Regions from separate parts of the Homo sapiens genome. Here all the other regions are linked to region 2. Evidence: promoter capture Hi-C in 16 types of primary human blood cells and fetal thymus (Javierre and others, 2016). All regions are on one chromosome and are shown on one strand. Each heading gives the region's core, a stretch centred on a gene start or on the middle of the fragment in contact. The rest is flanking DNA. Distances are from core to core; before and after follow the strand shown.

Evidence for each region. The method cuts DNA at HindIII sites, captures the fragments that hold promoters and counts their contacts. A CHiCAGO score of 5 or more calls a contact.
Region 1: a contact is called between a fragment that was not itself captured here and the fragment with the promoter of SUGP1 in region 2, in 2 of 17 cell types (M1 macrophages and M0 macrophages). The highest score is 6.8, in M1 macrophages.
Region 3: a fragment that was not itself captured here is called in contact with the fragment with the promoter of SUGP1 in region 2 in 1 of 17 cell types (monocytes); the score reaches 7.0 in monocytes.
Region 4: a contact is called between a fragment that was not itself captured here and the fragment with the promoter of SUGP1 in region 2, in 6 of 17 cell types (M1 macrophages, M0 macrophages, neutrophils and 3 more). The highest score is 9.2, in M1 macrophages.
Region 5: a contact is called between a fragment that was not itself captured here and the fragment with the promoter of SUGP1 in region 2, in 6 of 17 cell types (neutrophils, monocytes, fetal thymus and 3 more). The highest score is 9.8, in neutrophils.

What each region holds. Positions count from the first base shown.
Region 1 is chr19:19,092,802-19,095,501 of GRCh38, reverse strand. The region is part of intron 1 of SLC25A42 (solute carrier family 25 member 42); the gene reads right to left. Among named protein-coding and RNA genes, the nearest start is that of SLC25A42, 30 kb to the right of the region's middle. RefSeq lists an enhancer at 225-724. The HindIII fragment of the contact is 6,803 bases long and covers 1-2,700 here.
Region 2 is chr19:19,319,059-19,321,758 of GRCh38, reverse strand. It overlaps SUGP1 (SURP and G-patch domain containing 1), which reads left to right and starts at 1,250. Exons shown (of 14, transcript NM_172231.4): 1 at 1,250-1,296. The coding sequence starts at 1,263. It overlaps MAU2 (MAU2 sister chromatid cohesion factor), which reads right to left and starts at 930. Exons shown (of 19, transcript NM_015329.4): 1 at 624-930. The coding sequence starts at 899. RefSeq lists a silencer at 550-771 and enhancers at 143-1,114, 823-1,312, 1,333-1,382. The HindIII fragment of the contact is 18,112 bases long and covers 1-2,700 here.
Region 3 is chr19:19,463,248-19,465,947 of GRCh38, reverse strand. GATAD2A (GATA zinc finger domain containing 2A) reads right to left here. Exons shown (of 12, transcript NM_001384528.1): 2 at 334-608. The coding sequence starts at 602. Among named protein-coding and RNA genes, the nearest start is that of MIR640, 30 kb to the right of the region's middle. The HindIII fragment of the contact is 3,138 bases long and covers 1-2,700 here.
Region 4 is chr19:19,141,566-19,144,280 of GRCh38, reverse strand. No RefSeq gene overlaps it. Among named protein-coding and RNA genes, the nearest start is that of TMEM161A, 4.4 kb to the right of the region's middle. The HindIII fragment of the contact is 1,566 bases long and covers 675-2,240 here.
Region 5 is chr19:19,508,914-19,511,613 of GRCh38, reverse strand. GATAD2A (GATA zinc finger domain containing 2A) reads right to left here. Exons shown (of 12, transcript NM_001384528.1): 12 at 2,682-2,700. Among named protein-coding and RNA genes, the nearest start is that of TSSK6, 5.3 kb to the left of the region's middle. The HindIII fragment of the contact is 3,522 bases long and covers 1-2,700 here.

The sequences.
Region 1 (2,700 bases), core at 173-2,672, 230 kb after region 2:
AGCTGGGACTACAGGCGCCTGCTACCACACCCAGCTAATTTTTTATTTTTAGTAGAGATGGGGTTTCACCATGTTGGCCAGGCTAGTCTCGAACTCCTGACCTCAGGTGATCTGCCTGCCTTAGCCTCCCAAAGTGCTGGGATTACAGGCATGAGCCACCGCACCTGGCCTTTTTTTTTTCCCCCACCCAGGCTCAAGTGCAGTAGAACAATCATAGCTCACTGCAGCCTCAAATTCCTGAGCCCAAGTGATCCTCCCACTTGGTCAGCTAAGGGTGTTTTTTTTTGTTTTTGTTTTTGCTTTGACAGAATCTCCCTCTGTAGCCCAGGCTGGAATGCAGTGGCATGATCTCGGTTCACTGCAGCCTCCGCCTTCCAGGTTCAAGTAATTCTTGTGCCTCAGCCTCTCAAGTACCTGGGATTACAGACGTTTACTACCAAACCCAGCTATTTTTTATTTTTTTATTTTTAGTAGAGCTAGGGTTTTGCCATGTTGGCCAGGCTGGTTTTGAATTCCTGGCCTCGTGTGATCCTCCTAACGTGGCCTCCCAAAGTGCTGGGATTACAAGCATGAGCCACCGCGTCCGACTGGGTTGGCTAATTTTTATTTTTCATTTTATATTTTGTAGAGACAGTGACTCACTATGTTGCCCAGGCTGGTCTGGAACTCCTGGGCTCAAGCGATCCTCTGGCCTCAGCCTCCCAAAATGCTGGGATTCCAGGCATGGCCACCGTGCCTGGTTAGTTCCCACGCTTTAAAATCATCCAGTAAATGAAAACGCATTACTGCAAAGTGAAGCAAAGGGTGCAGAGGCCCCAGAGCAGGCATCAGTGCCGGTGAGTGACGCTGTACAAAGTGCACTTGGGATTCTGCTACACCAGCCTCCACTGCTGACTCTCCTAGTGAACATGGACCCATGGGCACTGGCTCTGGGAGAAACACCTGCTTCAAAGATGGGGCCAGAGAGAAAGGAAGAGCCTAGAGCACGTACGTGGAGGTGCCAGTCATGGAGGGCATGTTCAGAAACAGAAACCAAAGCAGATGGGTGTGGCGAGGGGGTCATGGGCACCCACCGAAAGAACCCTTGATGGCCAAAGCTGGAACAGTTTGAGTAGAAATGGAAAAAAACATAAAGCATCATGGATGAAAGCCTGAACTATAAAATAACCATGAGTCCATATAATATAAAGAAATGACAGAGTAAGTAAGTACATGGTAGGGAAGAGACAAATCTCCCAGGCAAAGGATTCCCAAATAGCACAGCAGCTCGGACCTCCAAGAGGGGCCATGCCTCCTGCCCTCAGGTGTGGCTGCGCTTAGCGGCTTCTTTCCAAAGAGTGCAGTCTGGAAAGGGGGCTGTCAGTGACTGCAGCACAGAAACCTGATGGATCCCAGCTGGGCTAGGTGATCCAGGACAACGCTGGCTGGGATAAGTCAGGTGGACGCATGTGCCTCTGATGGAGTGTGACGACTAGGGTCTTCCTCCCCCAGATCCATCACCCCATCTGACCGTGAGAAAAACATCAGGCTGGGCGCAGTGGCTCACGCCTGTAATCCCAGCACTTTGGGAGGCTGAGGCGGGCAGATCACGAGCTCAGGAGTTTAAGACCAGCCTGGCCAACCTGGCAAAATCCTGTCTCTACTAAAAATACAAAAATTGGCCAGGCATGGTGGCAGGCACCTGTAATCTCAGCTACTCAGGAGGCTGAGTCAGAAGAATCACTTGAACCCAGGAGGTGGAGGGTGCAGTGAGCCGAGATCACGCCACTGCATTCCAGCCTGGGTGACACAGCGAGACTCTGTCTCGAAAGAAAGGAAAAAACACCAGACACATCCCACCGGAGGGGCATTCTCCAGCAGCCCTGACCACTGCTCCCCAAAACTGTAACGGTCACCAAAAACAAAGAGCCTGAGAAACCGTCTCAGCCCAGAGGAGTCTAAGGAGATGTGAGGACTAAAGATCAGGTGGGATCCTTGGACAGAGAAAGGACATTCAGGAAAAATGGAAGAACGTGAATAAAGTGTGGAGCTCCATTAATATTAATACCATCTCAGCACTTGTTCATTAGTGAGGCAAATGCAGCACAGCACTGTGAGAGGTTATGCGTAAGGGACGCTAGATGTGTGCGGTGTCGGGGAACTTGGTACAGCCTTTGCAATTTTTCTGTAAATCTAAAACTGCTCTCAGCTGGGCGTGGTGGCACGCACCTGGAATCCCAGCACTTTGAGAGGCTGAGGTAGGAGGATCGCTTGAGCCCAGGAGTTTGAGACAAGCCTGGGCAACATAGTGAGACCCCGTCTCTAGAGAAAAAAATTAGTTGGATATGATGGCATGCACCTGTGGTCCCAGGTACTCGAGAGGCTGAGGTGAGAAGGTCACCTGAGCCAAAGAGGTTGAGGCTTCAATGAGCCGTGATTTCAGCAGTACACTCCAGCGCAGGTGACAGAGCAAGACTGGGTCTCAAAAAATAAAAATAAACTAAACTGCTTGCAAACAGACAGAAACCAGGTCCTAAAGACCTTTCCCAGCCGGTTGCTGGGGGTCGGCATCTTTCATCATCAGCCCATGGGATGCACTGCGTCTGTTTCACTCCGCCCCCCACAACAATCAGCCATGTCTGACTACTGCCCAGCACCACCCCTGCCGCTACAGACCCTGGGGGCTGTCCTTGCACTTGGGCGCTTGGGTGAGAACGGCGC
Region 2 (2,700 bases), core at 1-2,500:
AAATGACCAACTCCAGACTCCGGGTCTCAGCTTCCCTCGTACGACACCAGGCATTATTGATGGGGGCACAAGACCCTCCAAAAACCACGATTACCAAACTTCTGTGTCCAAGGAGAATCATGCCCTTCCAGGTTCCTGAGAGACCAGACTTCAGATTCCCGGGAGAATGCCAGGGGTCTCGCCTTCGCCAACCCCTACCCCAAGTCACTTTAGGTGGAAGCGTTTGGGGCTGATGCTCCGGAAGCTGAACCAGGAGGAGCTAATAGCTTCAGGACCCTGTGATGTCCCCATCGCCACCAACAGGTGGGATCCTCCTGAAAACCAGACGATTTGCGGATCCTGTTGCTCCCAATAACAGGCAACTTTCAGAGTACGGTGACGGGGCTCCTGGAGCCCTGTCACCAGAAACGGGAAATAAGGCGTGGGGGGCGAGGCTTTCGTGTCCCTTGAGAGGCTGGTGGCTTTGGGGTCCGGCAGAGGCGGGTGGGGGTCCTGCGGCTTTGACGGAGGTCGCGCCCCCAGGTCGCCGAGGAGCGGCCCCCCACCCGCCGCGGTCGCGACCCGTCAGCCCAGATCTTGCAAGGAGCCCGCGACTCCTCCCTCGCGGCCCGGCCCGCGCTCACCGCCTTCTCCAGGTGGCTGCGCGCCTGCTCGCTGTTCTTGGTGTGGTGATAGAGAACGGAGCCCAGCTGCAGGTGTGTACGGGCCTCGATGCGCTGCGGCGGCTTGAAGGGGAACACGGCCTGCAGGCAGTGCACGCACAGGCGGATTTTGGGCGGGCTGGAAGTGCGGAAGTGCTCAGCGAAGCCCAGAAGCGCCAGGTACCACGAGTCGGCCGCCTCGGCCTGCGCAGCCTGGGCCGCCGCCGCCTGGGCCGCTGCCGCCGCCTGAGCCGCCATTTTGGCCTCCACAACAACAAGCCGCCGCCACAGGGAGGCGGAAGCAGGCGCGCGAGACGGGGCCGGGCTCTCCTCGCGGCTTCCGCGAGATCTGCCGCCCAAAGCATCCTGGAACATGTAGTTTGTATTTGGGATGACTGCCGCTCCGGGAAGGTGTAAAAGGGCGACGCCGTTTGGTTATCGTGACTGGGACTTAGGCATCGCTGATAGGCTGAGGCTTCCGTTTCTGGAGGTTAAAAAAAAAAAAACCCAGTCGTTCACGCAGTAATAGGGCGAGTCTGACCGAGGCGGACTACATCTCCCATCAGGCGATGCACACTATAACAGGGCCCCTTAAGGGGCGCCGGAGCATTGTGGGATTGGATGAGTCTCAAGATGGACAACCGGGATGTTGCAGGTAACAGCCCCCGCCTCCTCTCAGGCGGCCGCCTGGGTCCCTGGGGCTAGGTGTCTCCCCTGACTCCTCGGGTCCGTCCTGCTGCGACCCGTGGATCCCTCGCTTCAGCCCCGGGGCAGCCCACAGCGTCGGCTTCTGCACCTCTTGGTTTCTCGAGACCCCAGACCCAGGTTGCTGGCCGCCCCCGCTTGGTTTGCTGAGGACGCACGGATCTCCGTAGAGGCCGCCACCCGGCTCGGCCCTGCGTCCCGTTTCCGAAACAACCGCCTTCAGGGCTGCTCCAACCTCCGTTCCCCAATACGGCGACAACCTTGGGCTGTCCCTGCACCCCTCTTTTCGTCGCAGCTGGCCTCTGGCCTGTGTCCCGCTTTCTGGAAAAGCTGCTTTTCCGAAGTGCTTTGAGGCTCCCTTGACACACTTTCCCGCGTCTTTTGACCCTCACTTTGCTGCAAGCCTTGGCCTTTCTGCTTCCCCAGAATAGAATGCATTTACCCATCAGCAGATACTTAGGGCGTGCTCACTGTGTGCCAAGCAGTGTGCTGGGCGCTACGCATGCAGCGGTGACCGAAACAGGGCCCTGCCTTCCTGGAGGTTGCTTTCTACTGGGGTGTCAGTGCATTAATGAGAAAATATTTACAAAAACTTACGTATGATGTGAGGTTACGTATGATATGATCAGAGTGGAGGCTTCTGATATTGGGTAGTCAGGAAAGACCTTTTCTTTCTTTCTTTCTTTTTTTTTTTTTTTTTTTTTTTGAGACAGGGTCTCACTTTGTCGCCCAGGCTGTAGTGCAGTGGCTCACTGTGGCTCCCTGGGTTCAGGTGATCCTCCCACCTCAGCCTCCCTAGTAGCTGAGACCACAGATGCGCGCCACCACACAGCGAATTTGTGTGTTTTTTGTGTTGCCACGTTTCCCATGCAGGTCTGGAATTCCTAGGCTCAAGCGATCCTCCCATCTCAGCCTCTTAAAGTGCTGGGGTTACGTAAAGGTGTGAGCCACCACACCTGGCCCAGGGAAAGGCCTTTTCAAGCAGAGGACATTTGAGTTAAGACAATGAATGCCAGCTATGGGAATCCCTGGAGGGTGGAGCCTTCCACACAGAGGGGGGCCAGTAAATGCAGAGGCCCTGGTAGGATGGGCTTGTCCTTTTGAAGAATGTCAAGGATGAAGCAGAAGGGAGGGGAACCATCTGGCGGGGCCTTGAAAATGGCCTTTTAGAATTCTTTTTTTCTTTTTGTTGAAGCGGAGTTTCGCTCTGTCGCCCAGGCTGGAGTGCAGTGGCACGATGTCGGCTGACTGCAACCTCTACCTCCCGGGTTCAAGCCATTCTTCTGCCTCAGCCTCCTGAGTAGCTGGGATTACAGGCGCCGGCCACCGCACCTGGCCAGTGTTTTTGTGTATT
Region 3 (2,700 bases), core at 53-2,552, 140 kb before region 2:
CTCAAGTGTCCCTACAAACCAAAAGCACCGAGTTGGACAGACAGCAGGTGCGTGGGTGGCAAAGGCCTACTGATGGCAGGGGAGCTGATGGAATGTGCCACTCCTTCTCCTGTGAGACCCACACTCTGTGCCACTTGCAGTTGGGACCTGGGGCCCTGGAATGGCCACAACAGCACAGCTGCCAGTGGTGGGTGATGCCCGAGCTGAGCCTACAGCCCTCTCCACAACCCCGCCAAGCTGTTACCAACAGGCCTGGAGTGTGGCCAGCCCCAACCTGGGCACACTGGGCTTGTCTCCAGGTTCCAGCCCCTCCCGCTGGCTCCTCCCACTCACCTGTGTGAGGTGCGCATGTCCACGGGCCCATCGCCCACCAGCCCTTCGCCTCTGCCCATGGCCATGGCCGTGGCCTCTGTTGCCCTCAGCAATCCTTGGGTTGGACCTGCTCCCGGCTCAGGTGTCACCCTCATGTCTCCGTCAGTGTTTAAATCTGAAGCCAACAATCCTCTCTCCATTTTTATTTTCTTGCTCTCCACATCGTCCTCTGTTGGGTCCCGTTCAAGCGCTCGTTTCTGACTCCGTGTTCGGCATGCTTCTTCGGTCATTCTGAACTTGGGAGGGAGGAGAAGACACAACATTTTAACTGGGTGCAATGAAGGTGCCACCTTCTTGGAGACTTTTCAGTGTTGCTTTCAGTGTTTTCCTCCCTATGGGAAGGATGGCAAAAGAATGTACAACAAACGCAGGGCCCAGAAAAGCATCCCCAGGACATTTCATCACTGCCTTGAGGAAGGCTAGGCAGGAGGGGGGTGTCCCCAGCCTCCACTGTGTGGCTGAACATTGGTGGAGCCAAACTACACCCTGCCCTGTTGGGGGCCAGAGGCAGCAGGGTGCTGAACAGGAGCAGTGGAAGGTGGCTGCTTATCAGCAAGGAAAGGCTCAACAGCAAACAGAGGAAAAGTTGTTCTAGATCTCAACTACCTGCCTTTGGGATTTTCAGCACCTGCAATGTCTGGAATCCAGGAGGGCGGTGACTGCACTGTTCCAGGAGCAGGGTCGGGGCCTGGGACTAGCCCTATGCTGTGGTGACTCGAGTTAACCCCAGCTTCTCCCCTTCAGGGAAGGGAGGTCTCCTCACTCCCTGCTCACCTCTGGGGAGTGGGGACTGGGGATCACATTTAACCCTTTGGTTGCCAGTGAGGTACACTTTGAGTAGAGTGAGGCCTGGCCCATCAACGTGCCACTGCCCTGTACCTGCAGCACACACATATCTTGATTTAAAGAAGAAAGAAAAAGAAGAAAAAAACAGCTGAGTCAGTTTTTGATCCCATGACATCACTGGCTCCACATGACCCTTCCCAGGATTCAGTCGGAGAGACAAAGCACTTTCCAGAAAACCAGTCTGAACCGGTTCCAGACAACAGGCTGAAGTGTTGTTAACCCTCACGGAGACAGGACGACAGCACAGCGATGTCTGTCTGCAGGGAGGCGGCTGGCATTCCACAGCAGGGTCTGGGACACTGGCACTCTTAAAGGGGCTGCTCTAATCCCGGCCTCGACGTCCCAACAGGACAGGGCACAGGAATTGAGACAGAGAGAGTCAGGTTCTTAAAAAAGCATCCCAGTGTTTACCAGAGGACAAAAGAGAAATTTAGCAGCTGAGCTCTAGTGGAATTCCCGAAGTGTCACAGTTTTCCATGGGACAGTTGGTGCCCACTTGGGCCCCACAGAGAACCCCAATTCACACCTGTGGCATGCTCTATGCTGAAGCCCTCTGGTCCTATCTGTGTCCTCACAGGCAGGGCACTCATCTTGCCAGAGCCTTAGTTTCCTCACTGGCAAACACCCTGGGGAAGCCTGTCCCAGGTAGAGCCAGGCAGACCGTCTGGAAGCTGGGGGCAGCACAAGGCAACACAGGGGTCCTGTCGCCATCCATGGGACGCACTCCAGAGCTGACTCATCTGCAGCTTCCTTAAAGGAGCCAATTTCACAAATGAGCAATAGCGCAAGGCCCTGCCCAAATGTGCCCCCTCATGCACTCAAACTGAAAGGAAAGAAAGAGACAGCTGCTTCACGCTCCTGGAGCCAGAGGGAAAGCAGGCCGTCTACATGCGTGTTGTGCCAGTGTGGTCCAGCCAGGGCACCCGGGCACCGGCTTGAAACACTGGGGTCTCCTCAAGGCCAGGAAATCCCTGGTGCTTCACACAGGCCCAGAGCAGCTCTGTGCTCCCTACCCTGTCTCACCACCACCCAGGTGCCATGGCTGACCCTTAACATGACCAGGCTGAGGCAGGGAGACTCCGAATCTCAAGGGCACAGGTTTTCAGACTTGCCTCCACCTGTCCCCAGCCCCTCTGGCATCCCAGCCTGCACCTACCACCTATCCCACACCAACTGTGCGGCCTCCGCTGCCCCCGGCCACCCTGTCCACCCCCGCCCCCGCTCCTGCTCAGCTGCCCCTCAGCTCCTCCGTGGAATGGAGCCCAGGTAGAGGTCGAATGTGGAGGTCATGGCCTCACTTCTCTGGGGGAGGTGAGGAATGCTACGGTGTCCCTCTCAGCCCTGAAGTTCTATGGTCTCTGTCCTTCCTTCCTCCGACATGCCTTGCCCATAAACCCCATCTGAACTGCTCACTAACAGGTTGTCTGTCTTGCCTCCCATGAGACCACAGATAAGTCACTGCCCTCAGAGTGTGGGTCCCCT
Region 4 (2,715 bases), core at 208-2,707, 180 kb after region 2:
GGCATGGCTGGCACATTCCTGTAGTCCCAGCTATTCAGGAGGCTGAGGTGGGAGAATTGCCTGAGCATAGGAAGTCGAGGCTGCAGCAAGCTGTGATTGAGCCATTGCACTCCACCGTGGGCAACAGAGCGAGACCCTATCTCAAAAATAACATCAAAAACAACGACAACATAAAAAACTGACTTCTAGCCGGGCACGGTGGCTCACACCTGTAATCCTAGCACTTTGGGGGGCCAAGGCGGGCAGATCACTTGAGGCCAGAAATTTGAGACCATCTCTACTAAAAATACAAAAATTAGCTGGGCCTCATGGCCCATGCCTGTAATCCCAGCTACTTGGGAGGCCGAGGCACGAGAATCACTTGAACTCAAGAGGTGGTGGTTGCAGTTAGCCGAGATCCAGATCGTGCCACTGCATTCCAGCCTGCACAACAGAGCAAGACTCCGTCTCAAAAAAAAAAAAAAAAAAAAAATTACTTCTTGCCTGTAATCCCAGTCCTTTGGGAGGCTGAGGAGGAAGGATGCCTTGAGCCCAGGAGTTGGAGGCTGCAGTGGGCTATTACCAGCCCACTACAATCCAGCCTGAGTGACAGAACAAGACATTGTCTCTAAAAATAACAGTAATAAAATTTAAAAGATCTGCCTCTGCCATGTTCTGCTCATCTCTTTGAAGCTTTTCCTCATCCTTAGAAGGAAGTTGGGCTCCTCAGCTGCCCTACCCTAGTCTGGCCTGGTCTCCTATCCCTGTCCCAGCCTCTCCAGTACCTTAGAAATATTTGCAGTACCAACATGTGACCCTACTGGTCTTTCCTGGAGCGCCTCCCTCAACCCCCAACTTGTCTCCTTTTTAAACTCCTTCCCACCCTCCAAGGCCCAGCTCTGCCTCTCTTCCTCCATGACGCCTTCTACACTGTCCCAAGCTGAGAAACACCTTTGTGAGTTGGAGTTCACAGATTTGGACAGGAAGACGGAAAACATGAGTGTTGAGATCAAGACTTACAAGATCCGCCTTGGCCGGGGACAGTGGCTCACCCCTGTAATCCAAATACTTTGAGAGGCTGAGGTGGGAGGATGGCCTAAGCCCAGGAGTTCAAGACTAGCTTGGGCAACATGGTGAATCCCATCTCTTAAAAAAAAAAAAAAATTAGCCAGGCGTGGCAGTGCACACCTCTAGTCCCAGCTTCTCAGGAGGCTGAGGTGGGAGAATCACCTGAGCCCGGGAAGTCAAGGCTGCAGTGAGCCATGATTGAGCCACTGCACTCCAGCCTGGGCAACAGAGCAAAAGACCCCGTCTCAAAGAGTAAAAAAACAAAAACAAAAACAGGCCGGGCATGGTGGCTCACACCTGTAATCCCAGCACTTTGGGAGGCTGAGGCAGGTGGATCACTTGAGGTCAGGAGTTCGAGACCAGCCTGACCAATGTGGTGAAACCTCGTCTCTATTAAAAATACGAAAATTAGCCGGGCATGGTAGTGTGTGCCTGTAGTCCCAGATACTCAGGAGGCTGAGGCAGGAGAATCACTTGAACCCGGGAAGTGGAGGTTGCAGTGAGCCGAAATCGCGCCACTGCACTCCAGCCTGGGCAACAGAGCAAGACTCTATCTCAAAAACCAAACAAACAAACAAACTCACCTGCTTTCCAATCACTCTGCCAAGATCCAAAGCTGAGCTGGTTGGCACAGCTCAGCCAGAATGGGCGGGGTACGTTGACTGACAATTTCAAAATCCTTTCTGTCACTCAGCGCCCCAGGGAGAGATTTCTTCAGTAAAACTGAGCACCTTGCATTTCACCCTTAGCGCACACAGTCCTAGACAAGATGATGGGCGGGACGCCTTTTAAGGGATAGGGAGACTGGACAAAGTATATAAGTGACAGAACCCGGAGGGGGCACTTGTTTATACGGCGGAGTATAGGATGCCATCTGCACCCCAGACCCCAGCTAAGGTTTGTCCTACGTCATCTTCGCCACCCTCATCCCCAGTGAGGTGGGGGCTTTGGGGCCCCAGTTTCCAGGATAGGGATATGGCATGATCAAAGTGTGTAAAAGCCCCTCCCCAGGCTCCCGTGGCAGGGGGCATTGGGAGCTGAGGGGAGGCAGTGCCCCCTGGAATGATCACTCTCTGTGTGTGCGTGGAGGCAAACCCACCAGGACTCCAGAACGGCTCGGAGGTGGAGGTGAAGGGAAGAGCGTGCCGTGGGTGACTGGAAGCTCCCATTTCATCCTCTGTGCTGTGGAAGCTTGTAGGGAATGAGACTTGGATGGGGTGAACTTGAAGCCTCTGCAGAGTGTCCAAGTGCGGCTAGAGATTTCGCTCACCCAACCCAGACTCAGGTCTTTTTTCTTTTTCTTTTCTACTTACTTATTTTTATTATTTTGTTTTGTTTTTGTTTTTTGTTTTGAGAGAGAGTCTCGCTCTGTCATGCAGGCTGGAGTGCAATGGCACGATCTCGGCTCACTGCAGCCTCTGCCTCCCAGGTTCAAGCGATTCTCCTGCCTCAGCCTCCTGAGTAGCTGGGACTACAGGCATGTGCCACCATGCTCAGCTAATTTTTTGTATCTTTAGTGGAGACGGGGTTTCACTATGTTGGCAAGGCTGGTCTCAAACTCCTGACCTCAGGTAATCCACCCACCTCGGTCTCCCAAAGTGCTGGGATTACAGGTGTGAGCCACCGCTCCTGGCCTAATTTTGTTTTTATTATTATTGGGTTTTTTTT
Region 5 (2,700 bases), core at 156-2,655, 190 kb before region 2:
TCTTGGCTGGACCACATCAGAGTGGAGGTAGAAAACCCAGCTCCTGGGGCCGGGCATGGTGGCTCACACCTGTAATCCCAGCACTTTGGGAGGCGGATCACTTGAGGTCAGGCGTTTGAGACCAGCCTGGCTAACATGGTAAAACCCCATCTCTACTAAAAATACAAAATTTAGTCGGGCATGGGTGGCTTGCACCTGTAGTCCTAGCTACTGGGGAGCCTGAGTCAGGAGAATCACTTGAACCCGGAAAATGGAGGATGCAGTGAGCCAAGATCCCACCAATGCACTCCAGCCTGGGCAGCAGAGCAAGACTCTGCCTCAAAAGAAAAAATAAATAAATAAAATAAAACCTAGCCCCTAGCCCCTCTGGTTTATTCGAAGGGTGCTGCTCCTGACTGGGGCCATGCCTCAGACTCCCCACTTGGAAAATGGGCAAAACCCCATCCTTGGGGTAGTGGGCATGGCTTCAGAGTGGGCGTAGCTTGAGTACTGGGCCCAGGACCTTCCCTAGACTCCCACTGCACTTAGCTAAAACCCACGCCCTTGCCCCGTCTTCCCACCCAGTCCCACCACATTGCCCTTTTTGTTCTTGACCTGCCATGCTGGCTCCTATCTCCAAGCCTTTGCACACTCCTGGCACTTTTCCCCTCTTCAAGCCTTGCCTAAAATGTCACCCCATGCCCTCCTCTCAAGGTGCTATATGTTTCTGTCTGGATAGCTCCTGCCACATCTCCGGGGCCCAGGGCATAGTGCATGCCATCTGTCCACCGACGAATCTGTGGGAGCAGATGGGGTCAGGGTCTCTGCCTGCCATGTGGCCACAGACCCAAGGCTCAATTCAGAGAGGATGAGATGTCGGGGACAAGATGTCAGGGACGAGGGGAGTGTCCCATTTTCTCAGCTGGAGAGGCTATTTGAGACCATGACCCAGGACCCGCCCCTTGAATCTGCCCCAACTGCACTGACAAGCCTGTGCCCAATCCAGGGAAGCAGAGCCTCACGAGGAACCAAGAGCCAAGCCCAGGAGACAGCACCCCATAGGAATGTTTCTCAGGCCAAGCAAGAAATGCCTGTAGCAAGCCTCTGGCCCCAGCTACACGGTAGGCTGAGGTGGGAGGATCGCCTGAGCCTGGGCAACAGAGAGCCTCTAGGCACTCTAGCTTGGGCAACAGAGAGCCTATCTCAAAAAAAAAAAAAAAAAAAAGTGGCTGGGTGCAGTGGCTCACGCCTGTCATCCCAGTACTTTGGGAGGCTGAGACCGGTGGATCACATCAGGAGTTTGAGACCAGCCTGGCCAACACGTGAAACCCCATCTCTACTGAAAATTAACTGGGCGTGCTGGTGGCGGCACCTGTAATCCCAGCTACTCGGGAGGCTGAGGCAGAAGAATCGCTAGAACCTGGGAGGCGGAGGTTGCAATGAGCCAAGATCGCGCTACTGGACAGGCTGAGGTTCAGTTTCTACCATGTTCTCTACCAGCTCTGTGCCCATAAGACCAGGCACTTGGGAGTTGTGGGGAAGGTATGAGCTCCCAGGCCGGAGGCAAGGATGCTTCAAAGACAAGAAACGGCCAAGCGTGGTGACTCACACCTGTAATCCCAGCACTTTGGGAGGCCAAGGTGAGAGGACTGCTTGAGTCCAGGAGTTCAAGACCAGCCATGGGCAACATGGCAAAAATGTGTCTTTGCAAAAAATACGAAAATTAGCTGGGCATGGTGGTGCATGCCCATAGTCCCAGCTACTGAGGAGTCTGAGATGTGAGGATCACCTGAGCCTAGGGAGGTTGAGGCTGCAGTGAGCTGAGATCAAGCCACTGCATTCCAGCCTGGGCAACAGAGTGAGACCCTGCCTCAAATAAATAGCACCTAGGAAAACAGGGTCATGTTTTATGCACATTAAAATTCAGCAAAATGATCCCAGGTCTCACCTTAAGAATAAAACTTGAAACTATCAACACTTGAAAACATTTTTGCCAGGACGTCGTTCATTTTGGATCCAGGTTGGTGACTCTGTGCTTAGATTGCACATCTGTAATATCACATCCTGCAGCAAAGACACCATCGAGGCCCCCAGCCTGAAAATTGCTCCAGGAAAACCCACCACTCTAGCGTGAAGGCTGATGCAGCAAACACAAGCAAATTCCACTGAGAATTTTTTTTTTTTTTTGAGAAAGTCACGGTCTCTTACCCAGGCTATAGTGCAGTGGCGCAATCTTGGCTCACTGCAACCTCTGCCTCCCGGGTTCATGCGATTCTCCTGCCTCAGCCTCCCAAGTAGCTGGGGTACAGGCACCCACCACCACATCCGGCCAATTTTTGTATTTTTAGTAGAGATGGGGTTTCACCATGTTGGCCAGGCTGGTATCGAACTCCTGACCTCAGGTGATCCACCCACCTCAGCCTCTCAAAGTGCTGGGATTACAAATGTGAGCCACCAAACCCAGCCCCCACTGAGATTCTCATTCCTCTCTCCCAGCCCATGGGGTAAGTTTGCCACAAAGCTCCAGAGGAGAGGGGCCGTGGGGACTCCATCCCCACAGTAAGTGAGGCCCCAGCAGCAGATGCACCCCGCCCTTTGCTTCTCTCATTAACTAAGGGTCATCCTCCATCTCCCTCCAACCTGCCTGGGAAGCTAGGACGAAACAATACAGAGAAGCCAGGGCAGAAGGGACAAAAGAAAAGTCCAGTTGACACATCATCC